2 separate regions of the Homo sapiens genome follow, and region 2 is linked to region 1. Evidence: promoter capture Hi-C in 16 types of primary human blood cells and fetal thymus (Javierre and others, 2016). All regions are on one chromosome and are shown on one strand. The core of a region is centred on a gene start or on the middle of the fragment in contact, and the rest is flanking DNA. Distances in the headings are between cores, read along the strand shown. Region 1 holds the start of RUSF1 (RUS family member 1). Region 2 has its middle 14 kb from the start of KRABD5.

The links. The method cuts DNA at HindIII sites, captures the fragments that hold promoters and counts their contacts. A CHiCAGO score of 5 or more calls a contact.
Region 2: a contact is called between a fragment that was not itself captured here and the fragment with the promoter of RUSF1 in region 1, in 3 of 17 cell types (erythroblasts, endothelial precursors and activated CD4 T cells). The highest score is 6.6, in erythroblasts.

Annotation. Positions count from the first base shown.
Region 1 is chr16:31,505,059-31,511,039 of GRCh38, forward strand. It overlaps RUSF1 (RUS family member 1), which reads right to left and starts at 3,333. Exons shown (of 13, transcript NM_022744.4): 1 at 3,016-3,333; 2 at 2,706-2,820. The coding sequence starts at 3,315. It overlaps RUSF1-DT (RUSF1 divergent transcript), which reads left to right and starts at 3,406. Exons shown (of 2, transcript NR_186401.1): 1 at 3,406-3,978; 2 at 4,115-4,508. RefSeq lists enhancers at 2,319-3,034, 3,035-3,749, 3,314-3,883 and silencers at 3,044-3,103, 3,164-3,213. The HindIII fragment of the contact is 29,640 bases long and covers 1-5,981 here.
Region 2 is chr16:31,696,291-31,702,271 of GRCh38, forward strand. It overlaps the pseudogene CLUHP3. Among named protein-coding and RNA genes, the nearest start is that of KRABD5, 14 kb to the right of the region's middle. RefSeq lists silencers at 4,127-4,266, 4,527-4,676. The HindIII fragment of the contact is 5,761 bases long and covers 38-5,798 here.

The DNA of each region.
Region 1 (5,981 bases), core at 2,083-4,582:
AGATGTGGCCTCGTGGGAAGGAAAAGACCTGACTGTTCCCCAGCCCGACACCTGTAAAGGGTCTGTGCTGAGGAGGATTAGGAGAGATATGCTGGCGGCAATGCTGCTCTGCTACTCTGCTACACTGAGATGTCTGGGTGGAGAGAAGCATAAGTCTGGCCTACGTGCACATCCGGGCACAGTACCTTCCCTTGAACTTATTTGTGACAGATTCCTTTGCTCGCATGTTTTCCTGCTGACCTTCTCCCCACTATCACCCTGTTCTCCTGCCGCATTCCCCTTGCCGAGATAGTGAAAATAGTAATCAATACTGAGGGAATTCAGAGACCAGTGCTGGTGCTGGTCCTCCGCATGCTGAGTGCCGGTCCCCTGGGCCCACTGTTCTTTCTCTATACTCTGTCTCTGTGTCTTATTTCTTTTCTCAGTCTCTCGTCCCACCTGATGAGAAATACCCACAGTGTGGAAGGGCTGGCCTCCTTCAGTTCTGAATCAAGGCAATCATGGTAACAGTGACAATGAAGAGGATACTGTTACCACTACAGAAAAAGTGCCTATAGACAGCACGGTGAGGATGTGGGAGGGGATTACTGTGGCACTAGAGCAGCATACATTCATAACGGAACAAGAAATCAGGCAGTTTATAGAATCCAAGAGAGACTTCTAAGATAGAAACCACAGTTAATGAGGCAAATGACTCTGGAGGAAACATTTTAAAAAGCCATCCAGCAGAACACTTCCTCATCCCTAGAGGACCCGCTTCCTGTCCTTCAACTGCTTCTAATGTTTCTTCTCACCTTAAAAAAATAAAATATGGTGTCCAGTAACCTTTTCACCAAAACAGCTGAAGACTGACAGCCTGCCGTTTTTGTTGCTGCTGCTATGGTTCAGAAGCTGATACAGGTGTTCTGGTGATCTGCTGTGCTGCTTAGTTACCCTGAACACACAATTTCTCACTGTATTAGTGGTATATCATGTTTTATACTGTTAAGTACTTCTGTGTGAATAGGTATAAGAAAATGACTGCTTCTTGGTAGCATATACATTCAGAGTCAGGAACGATGGGGACGCTAACCAACCAGATTGTCCACGTGTGGCTGAGACAGTGACATCTTTGCTTTCTGATGGATCAATGAACACAAACTTTGTTTCATGCACACCATTGAAAATACTGTATAAAACTGCCTTTAAGGTATGTGTATAAAGTATATATGAAACATAAACGAATTTCATGTTTAGACTTGAGTCTGATCCCCAACAAATCTCATTATATACATGAAGATATTCCAAAATCCAAAAAAAATTCCAAAATCCAAAACACTTCTGGTTGCAAGCATTTTGGATAAGGGATATTCAATCTGTATAGGCAACATGTTGGTGACATCACATGAAAACAAAAACTACTGACCCAAGCTCCAAATGCATTCCAAAAATACGGCCAACAAGCCGGGCGCAGTGGCTCACGCCTATAATCCCAGCACTTTGGGAAGCTGAGGCGAATGGATCACCCGAAGTCAGGAGTTCGAGACCAGCCTGGCCAACATGGTGAAACTCTGTCTCTACTAAAAATACAAAAAATTAGCGGGGCAGGGTGGCACATGCCTGTAATCCCAGCTACTTGGGAAGCTGAGGCAGGAGAATCGCTTGAACCCGGGAGGAGGAGGCTGCAGTGAGCTGAGATTGTGCCACTGCACTCCTGCATCCCAGCCTGGGTGACAGTGAGACTACGAGTCTGGAAAAAAAAAAATAGAGATGGGGGTCTCCCTATGTTGCCCAGGATGCCTCAGCCTCCCAAAGTACGAGGATTAAAGGCGTGAGCCACCGTGCCCGGCCCAGTTTTCTCAGTCTTAATGGTAAAGGTGTAAACAGGAAGCTCCTGTTTTCTCAAAAAAATCCAGAGAGGCTCACAAGGGATGTGGCCAGACTGATGCTACGAATGGAAAGCGCTTTTCCTTAGATCTATTAGGTTGGCTCAAATGTAATTGCGGGTTTTCCATTACCTTTAATGGCAATAACGACAAAGAAACCCCGCAATTACTTTTGCACCAGCCTAATAAATATCCCCTGCGAGCAGTAGTGAAAGACAAAGGACAGTGGCAAAAGCCATGGGGCCTCCTCGTGTAGAACATGTAACAATTTCCCTTTTCTGTTCTATTTCCCTCTCTGGGTGGCATGGTACCAAACTGTATTTTTTTTCCTTAAACAATTTTTTAAAAGCTGTACATATTCAGCAGATAGTCACTCTATTATTTACAGCATCATCTGGTATCCCAGAGCATACACAATACCTTCCATTCTTTCCAGGCTCTCCTCTCTCCTTCTCAGGACCAACTATATCTTTTTTTTCTGGAGCTCACCAATTTCCCCTATCCTGGGCAGCTGGCAGTTTTATTCCATCAATTGCATTCTTATGCAATCTTCCACAAAGAGAATAGGGATAAAGGGGAGGGGACGGGATTTGGGATCCAGATGATTGAGACTCAGAAGTCTGTGTGGGGAATGGAGTGCGGCTGCTAGGCTGGTGAGTGGGATGAGGGTCTTCCAGATGTGGGAAGTAAGACTGGGTTACAAAGCACCACTCTAATCACTGGGGAGACCTGCCTGAATTCTACCTAATGGGGCACGAGTCCATACATATATACACATAAGAGCCCAGCGAAAGCAGGGCTGAAAGCAGCAATACGTGAGGCTCCAGGGGTGCAGCTCACCTTTCACGAGCCAGGTGGCCGTGGCAGCTGAAACAGTGGCTTTTGCGTTCCCCACCCCTATGCCCAGCAAGACTGCCTGGGTGGCTAGGGAGCCGGAGAGGCTGGAAGCAAACGCCTGGAGAAGAAAACAAGTAGGGTGAGAAGCGGGCGTAGGAGCGTGGCGGTCTAAGTGCCTTCATCTGTTCTTGTTCTTGGTGTATGAGGCATGTCAGACCCCCCGCCCCCCGGGCTCCGAGTCTCAGTCACCCGTCCATTATTGGGGAGGGAGGAGTGGCCTGCACTGTCCTCTGCCCCAGACGACCGAGCTGACCTGCACGGAATCCCACAGCTGGTAGGGCAAGTAGTCCGGGCTGACGCTATCAGGGAAGCCCTGAGGCAGGAACACGGCCTGGAGCCCGGAGAGGGGCGGTGAGGGGGCCCCGGAAGCCCCCACTTCGCCCGCATCTCGTCCTTCAGGTTTGACCGTGAAGGCCCTGGAGAGCCCCCACCAGCGCCAGCCCCCGACCTCCCACTGCAGGCTCCCGTCCGCGGCGGCGCGGCAGCCCCGTGCCTCCCCGGAGCCGAACTGCTCGGAACACAGCGGGGTCTCCAAACCCGCGTCGTCAGCCATGCCGAGCTTTTGGATCCCAGCCCCGCCCCTGCCGCACGGTGGACGTGGCAGGCGGCACTTCCGGCTGGGCTACCGCGGCTGCAGAGGGACATCTTTCAAGAACAGGCGCCGGCCTCGGCGTCCGCCGCGCAGTTAGGAAACTGACTGTCGCTCTCTCCGGCCTCGGCGCTGCTTCGGACGCCCCGGCACCGGCCCCCGTTGCTTTGTAGCATTCTGCAGCTGGGCTGCAGGCGCCGTGGGCCTCCGCCAGTTGTGTTCGAGACGCGGTTCGGCCACAGAAGTTTTAGCTTGTGACTTTTGGCAAGTCAGTGGCCCTCTCTGGGCCTCAGGTGCCTTTTTTGCTGTGAGACCAGCGACTGTATTTTTAACCCTGATTTTATCCCTAGATCTACCCAACACATAGTAGGTGCTCAAAAGATATTTATGAGTGAATGAATGCATCATGAGAAGAAATTGGACCAGATGAGGCCCTGTGAAGCTGCTTGGGTCTTTTTTTGTTCTTTTTTTTTTCTCTCTTCTGAGTGTCCCTGGCCTGGACTAGAAATTCTCCATCCTTCGGCCTTCTGCGAGACTGCAGGAACATTACTTTTGAAGGATGCTAAGGAATCCGAGGGATGAAAAAAATCAAGAGATTGCAATGATGTCACAAAACAAGGAAACAAGGCAGGAAGTTCTTGTGTGTTTTTTTGCGGGAGAGAGTCCATGAAATTGGGGGGAGTCCAAAGAGGGAGTGTTTCTGTCCTTGGAACTCACCTTTTCTTCTTTCCATTTCTCCTCTTCTCCTTCCCATCTAGTGCAGCATCTTCACTCCGAAGCAGAAATTTGCCAAAAAAGCATCCTCTTTTTATCAGAAAATAAAATATCCTGGTTTCTTAGCCTGGCATTCTTGGATCCCCACAGTTTGATCCCAACCGACAACTCCTTATTTGAAACTTCAGATTCTCCCAAACCGTCACCTTCCTCGTGGACTTAATCCTGGAAGGCCCTTCTACCCCACTTCGCCTTATCTCACACAAACACAGTCTCTCTCTGACTGAGATAAACTTGAACACTTCTTTTCTTTTCTTTTTTTTTTTCTTTAAATTTCGGGTTTCAAAATACAAATGGCCTAATCACAACATTTCTGTAATGTTGTCTAAATTCAGGTACTGGTTTGAATAGAGGACAAAAATAAAACAAGGTTTGAAGACTAAGTACTTTAAAAACATATTTATTTAAATAGAGGCAGGGCCTCCCTATGTTGCCCAGGCTGCTCTCAAACTCCTGGCCTCAAAAGTGATCCTTGGGCTGGGCGTGGTGGCTCACGCCTGTAATTCCAGCACTTTGGGAAGTCGAGCCAGGTGGATCACTTGAGGTCAGGAGTTTAAGACCAGCCTGGCCAACATGTTGAAACCCCATCTCTACTAAAAATACAAAAATTAGCTGGGCGTGGGGGTGGTGTGGCCATAATCCCAGCTATCCGGGAGGCGGAGGCAAGAAAATCGCTTGAACCGTGCAGTTGTCATTAACTCCGTGTTTGTTATCTCTTTTTTACCAATGGTTTGCCAGTTTCTTCTACAAATACCTGTTGCTACCTATGTGCTCATTGGGATAGTGAGCAAAAACAAACAAGGGTCTTGGTCTTTTGGAACTTATATTAGGGAAGGATATTGATCAAATCATACAAATAAATGCAAAGTTGGAACTATTTCAATTGCTGTAGAGGGGTACATGTTATTTAATATGAGGACTTTTAGAAGGAGAATTGAGCTAATCAGTGGAATCAAGGGAAACTTTTTTTTTTGAGATGGAGTCTCCCTCTGTCACCCAGGCTGGAGTGCAGTGGCACAGTCTTGGCTTACTGCAACCTCCACCTCCTGGGTTCAAGTGATTCACCTGCCTCACCCTCCGGAGTAGCTGGGGTTACAAGCATTCACCACCACACCCAGCTAATTTTTGTATTTTTAGTAGAGACGGGGTTTTGCCATGTTGGCCAGGCTGGTCTTGAACTCCTGGCCTCAACTCATCTGCTTGCCTCGCCTCCCAAAGTGCTGGGATTACAGGCATGAGCCACTGTGCCCGGCCAAGGGAAATTTTTTAACAAAAATTTAAGTTGGGGTCTCTCTGTGTTGCCCAGGCCTCCCGCCTCGGTCTTCCAAAATGCTAGGATTATAGGCATGAGCCGTTGAGGCCAGCTGGGAAACTTTTTTTTTGAGGAAGTGTGTATTTAGCTGAGATCTAGAGTAAGAGTTAACTTGATTATGATGGGAAAATAATTTTCTGGAAAGAAGGAGCAGCATGTCCTGAGTGGGGAGGGAGCATGGTACCTAACATCCAACAAAGGCCGGTGCAGCAGAAGTCTAGAGCACGAGGGGCATGGGGAAAGGGCTGCTAGGGAGTTAGGGGCCAAACTGCAGGACATTGTAGGCCAAGCTCTTCTTCATCCTTAGGGTTAAGATTTATTTTTTATTCTATCAGTCAATCAATCAATCGATCGATGAGACAGGGTCTTGCTCTGTCACCCAGGCTGGAGTGCAGTGGTGCAATCATAGCTCACTGCAGCCTCAAACTCCTGGGCTCAAGTGATCCTCTTGCCTCAGCCTCCCAAGTAGCTGGGACTACAGGCATGCACCACCATGCCTGGCCAACTTTTAAAATTTTCTGTAGAGATGGGATCTCACTATGTT
Region 2 (5,981 bases), core at 1,668-4,167, 190 kb after region 1:
CGCGCGCGCGCACACACACACACACACACACACACAAAGCTTTACTATAGTTTGCAGTTGCATTAGAGGTGTTGCCCTCTATCTAGGGTGCAAAGTGGCTTGGTATCACCCATGGACTGGGCCCCAAGCACAATTCACCTGTATAACTTTTCTGGAAGGGTGTCACCCTGGCAGCTTATGGGGACTCTGGTAATACCTTCCAGAGAGTCCTGGGCTAGGGATGTCTGCTGGGTGTGAGACCGACAACCTCCCACCCTCCATATACCTCCTGGGCCAGGACATGGGAATCTCACAGGGCACCCTGCCCCAGGCAGAAGAGGAGGGGACTAGCTTCAGAGGGTGTGGACAGTTCCCTGGTTCCTAGGAGGACTTCAAATGTACTGCAGATGGAAACTCCTTCTACCTCATTTTGAGTCCAACCAACCTACTTGGTGGCTAGAGGAACTTCATGTTTCTATTTATACACATTTTTAAATATATATATTTTACACGAGATGTATGTTTAAACAACCAGAGGCCAGATTTGAAGAGGAACATATCTGGGATTCATTCTGTTGTTGTAAGTGTCACTTAGTCCTGTGTGAGGACAGATTTGCCCTATGTGTAACAGCTACATTTAAGAAAGTTAAGAAATTGTCCTTAGTTTCACAATGGAATATTTCAAAAACAAAATTCTCCAATCGAACAATGTATGCAAAGATTATTATGGTTTTTTCTTCTCCCTGCAACAAGCGTTAAGGATCATTATGTTTGTTATGTTGTTAAAGTCCTGGAACATAGAGATAAGAGGTAAGTGAGCATCCCCTGGTGGAGAAAGGGAGTCTTTTCCCAGAATCAGTGTTTTCCCTCGCCTTGTGTCCATTGGCAATCACTCAACACAAACTGGTGGCCATTCGGTACAATCAAACAAGCAAGCAAACAAAATCATCAATATGCTTGTGCAGCTACACTTGATAATTTATGTACAGTAAAGGAATAAGGAAGGAGAAAGTGAAGAATAGAGAAGGGGATACTGGACCAATCAGACGTGGTGGAACCATATTGCAGTTTTCCACATGAGAATGTCTGTAGGAACAGAGTTCTGGGGTAAAGCCGTGAGTGTGTTCTCAGTAGACACTCCAGTCTGCTTCTGGAACACATCAACTGAATCTTTGTCCTCTGTTTCCAGTTCTGCAGATGTGTCTGTTTCACTGATTGGCCCCAGTCAAAGTGGAATCTGATCTGTGTCATGGACAAACTCTGCCTTTCACCAAAGGCTTCCACTCATTCACTAAGTGGTGTGTGCCTCTTCACCATCAACTGCACCCCGGGACCATCCTACCTGCCACTTTCAAATTCACAGGATTCTGCTCTCGGCCTTGACTCAGGCTCTTTCTCTGCCATAGCAGAGCCTGAAGGCTCTTCAGCTGCAGCTTCACCAAAGAGGTCCAGAGTGTGCACCAAACTAGTGAGCCAGCAGCTCCCGATGCCACAAGTGGAGGAGGCAGCAGAGCCTTACCCGGTGTTTTTATCACCATCCCTGCAGCAACAGCAGCAGCAGCAGCAACAACAATCACAACCACTATTTCTAATTGTGGTAATAATAATGATCACACTTAGAATAATGATGAATAACAATAATTGTAATTGCTGACATATTCAGTTTATATGTAGATTTATTATTTGTAATGTTTTAAAATTTACATTTAGTAATATAGACATTAATTGTGTCATAAATGTCAGGACCCCAAAACACCCCACCTAATGAATGACTCTCATCTATGGACCTATGGCTGCCCACCTGCTAGTGCGGGTGCTCTCACCACTCCACCCCCAGAGCTTCGATCTGTCTGGTCAACCTTCTAGGATGATGAAGTAGCTGAAGCACTCTTATGATCTGATTGAGGTCTTGGCAAACAGCTTGACTTGTTAGAAATCGAAGGCTGACTTTAAGACGTACTCAGCTGTTTGGCTAAATTGAGGCAGGAGGAAATGTCTTCTCGGCAGATCTACCTTTGTGTCTCTTGCTTTCAGAGTAAAACGTTGTTTCGGGAACAGTAGTTTAATTTAGTCTGTGTTAAAAATCATAATCAGACTACAAATAACGCACGGGGATGAAAATAATTTGCACACATGTTCGTGCATTATATGTGTTTTCAGATCTCTCCTATGGTAAGAAATGAAAAAGTTATGCCTTGATTTTTTAAACTCAGCCATCAGCCATTTTCCCAAGTTAATCTAAATGTTTGCAAGACATTTCAGAAGCATTCTCTGGTGGGGATTACTCCTAATTGTGAATAATCCTACTAGAAGGATGAGCATCTCAAAAGAACCTTTATTCTATTGCAGAAGAGTCAGTCTTCAGGATCTCAAAGGCCTAGGGAAGCTGCTTGAGTTGTGAGGTCTATGGAGGTACATGGGCTTTGGAGTCAGGCAAAGTTGATCCAGAGTCCCAGTCCAGCCACTTAGTAGCTGTAGTGCTTTGGACATGTTCCTTGACTTGGAACAGTTATATAAACCTTGCTGTAAGAAAAGGCAGAATGATACTGACTGCAAAATGGCTCTGGTGTCCATGCCCTTTGGAATATGCTTTTACAGCTGCTCCAACATAGAGGCAGAATCTGTTTCCTGACGCTTGGATCTGGGCTGGCCTTATTTGCTCTGGGCAATAGAAAGCTATCAATATGGCAATGTGACAGTTTGGGGTCTAGGGACATAAGGCCTTGAATGCTTCTGCTTTTTCTTTTAGAACCCTGCCATCTCCATGAGAACAAGCACATGTTAGCCTGCTGGAGGATGAGATCCCACTGGGGAGGAAAACCAAGGTGCCCCAGCTGACACCCAGAAGCAGAGCCACTTAGTCAACCAGCAGCTGACCACACACGCCTGAAGGAGCCCAGCTGAGACCAGAAGAATGGCCCAGTTGAGTCCAGCCTAAATGACTGACCATCCCAATCATGAGCTAATAAGGTTTAGGGTGGTTTTTAATGCAGCAATAGCTAACTGATACATACACCTGCAGTCAGGTTGCCAGGATTCAAATGACAGGTTGGTCACTACTTGTTGTTACCTGGCAAACAGAAGGCACTGTATAAGGTATTGATTTGCTTTTCCCTTTATTTAAAGTGGGGCCTCTTGTTGGATAGGGATAAATTATACAGAAATGCATGTTGACATGCTTGGTGCTTAAACTCACACAGTCCCCACACCATAGGAGGAAACAGCCCGCCATAGCCTAACCATCAGGGCCAAGGGCAAATTGCAAAATAAAAAAAATTTGCTTTTATTCCCTCCACATCCAAACTTTGGAGGTCAAGGCTGTAGACAGATCTGAAGTCAGGGGTTTCCTCCTGAAGCCTGACACTCTTCATTCACTGTCTGACCTTTGGAAGGCTGAGGGAGCCCTGCCCAGAAGCAGGTGGGCAGCAGTGGTCGACCTGTGGACACCTCCTGACTGCAGCCCTGGCTCTCTCACTGGGCACTGCCTCTCCCACCCTTGGGCATGAGGAAAGAGATGGGCAGGATGAGGGTGTTCGCTCTCGTCTGGCAGGAAAGGGGGTCCAGGCCCTCGATTTCCCTGAGGTTAGACGCGCAAGTGCCCTCAGATCTGCTCTTCAATGCGGAAGCCACTGCCCACGTGGGGCTGCTGAGCTCTTTGGATAGAGCTGGTTGGAACTGAGATGTGCTAGAAGTTTAAATACAGAGTGACTTTACAAGATTTAGTACCCCAAACTTAAGAAGCATTCTCTGGTGGTCTTCATTAATAATTTCATATTGCTCACATATTTGAGTGATAATATTTTGGATATATCGGGTTAAGGTATTACCATCAATTTTACCTGTTTTCCTTTCATGATGCCACTAGGCTACTGTAAATGACACATGCGGCTCAATTTTATTCCTATTGGACATTTCTGACTTAGAGGACTCCCTCCATTTTCAAATCTCATGCTGCCTCCACAAGGGACCAGAGGCCATGAAGGTTATGAAATCTGAAATTTTAAAAGAATCGTTATTATATAATTTTCAATTTTACATATTACCTATATTACTCATAAATTGATATAATCTTATGAGCAAAGTTAAATACCAATGTCCGGAGCAGCCCCAGGTCCCAGCACAGGGAGTCAGCCCTGCCTGAAAAGGGCTGCAGACAATCATTCATTCAGGCCTCATTCAGCCACACCTGTGATCGCATCTCCTGTCACTCGGGGGTAAGGGGGCGGGACCTGGAGCCCTATCCATTCAGCGGCGCCGTTGTCGAGCCTGTCCAATCAGGCGCGCAGCCGAAAAAGGGGGCGCACTTCCTGTGTTCTGGGCTGGCCTTTTCCTCTCCCAGGTGCGCTTCCCTGCTTGATCTGTGTACCCTGCTCTTTCTCCTTCATTCCGCAGCCTCCTTTGCCCTGTGACCTGCAGGTACTGGACGGTCCCTAGAGAGGATACCGGGACGCTCCTGAAGCCGCGAGATGGTGAGTCTGCGGGGCTGAGCTTCCCGAGACGCGGCAGGGGTCGGCTGGGAACCGGGCCTGCCCCTGGCGGCTCCGGGGTCGGGGCCCGGAGTCTCCTCGGTCACACGGTGCGGCTCGGCCGGCAGCTGGGACCCCGGGCGCCTCGTCCCGTCCCTGCGCGACGACCTTGGTCCTGCCTTGAGCCCTCTCTGGGCAGTTTCGCGCCCGCAGCCCCGTGTCTCCCCGCGTTGTGCGGTGATGACGGGAGGGGCCGTAGGGGAGAACCCCGGCTCGGGGTTCGGGCGTGGGAGGAGCTGTGGTCCGTGGGGTCCGTAGTCCTTTCTTTCTTTTGTTAAAAATTAAACTGAGGTTTGGTTAAAACGTTAAAGATTTTATCTGAGCAAATAACGACCCGTGAATCAGGAAGCCACAACCATGGATTGTGGTTTGGGGTCCACCGGAGGGGCTTGAAGGAAAGGGTTTAATAAGATGCATGAGGAAGCAAAGCCAATTCAGTAATTGATTGGCTACAATTACGTAGTCCCCTTATTTGAACTGTCCAGGCGGAAATTCCCTGATTATGTAATCAAAGGTTAATTGGTGGTTTGTGGTTGGTTAAGAGTGTTTTCTTTTCCTTTAAGTTATTTCTAAGAAATGCATGAGTTACGTTTTGGTTTTCTTAGGTAGAAACCCAGGGCACTACAGCCACTTCAGTCAAATTGCCTCCCATTTAATTATTTTAACACCCCACAGGGGGACTGATTTTCCCTGCATTTTCCAAATCTATGGCAAGGAGGGTCTCAAATCCACCACCCTGTTCCCCCAACCTAATTCTTCTAAGGCTTTCAGTAAAATTCTAAATTTTCACTTCCTTCTCCTGATTCTCAACTGCCAGCTTCCCCTCTGCAATTCACAACGTTATCAACTATTTGCTCTTTATTGTAGATTTCAAGCAGATGCAGCCTGACCATTAGGGCCAAGGCCAAATTGCAAAAAAAAAAAGAAGTTTGCCTTTATTCTACTCCATCCACATCTAAACTTTGGAGGTCAAGGCTGTGGACAGATCAGAAGACATAGTTCCCTCCTTCTGGGGCTCCACATCCTTCATTCACTGATCTCTGGGAAGGAGGATGGGTGGCAGGTAGGCAGCAATAGTCTACCTGTAGACACTTTCACCTAGGCCTTGAAGGATGAGTCAGTGTTTGCCCGACAGACTGAGATGTCAGGGGCAGCATGGAAAAGCAGAGAGGTGGGAGGGCAGGTTTCAGGTATTCTCAGTCCTCTGTGGTTTGGGGAATGTAGACCTAAGTGCAGGAGCCGGCAGGAGCTGGGGTTGCCTTTAGGCTGGTGCCTGAGAACACGGGCTTAAGAAGCTTGATTTTGGCTGGGTGTGGTGGCTCATGCCTGTGATCCCAGCACTTTGGGAGGCTGAGGCAGGCGGATCACCTGAGCTTAGGACCAGCCTGGCCAACATGGCCCCGTCTCTACTAAAAATACAAAAATTAGCTGGGCGTGGTGGCACATGCCTGTCCCACCTACTTGGGAGGCTGAGAC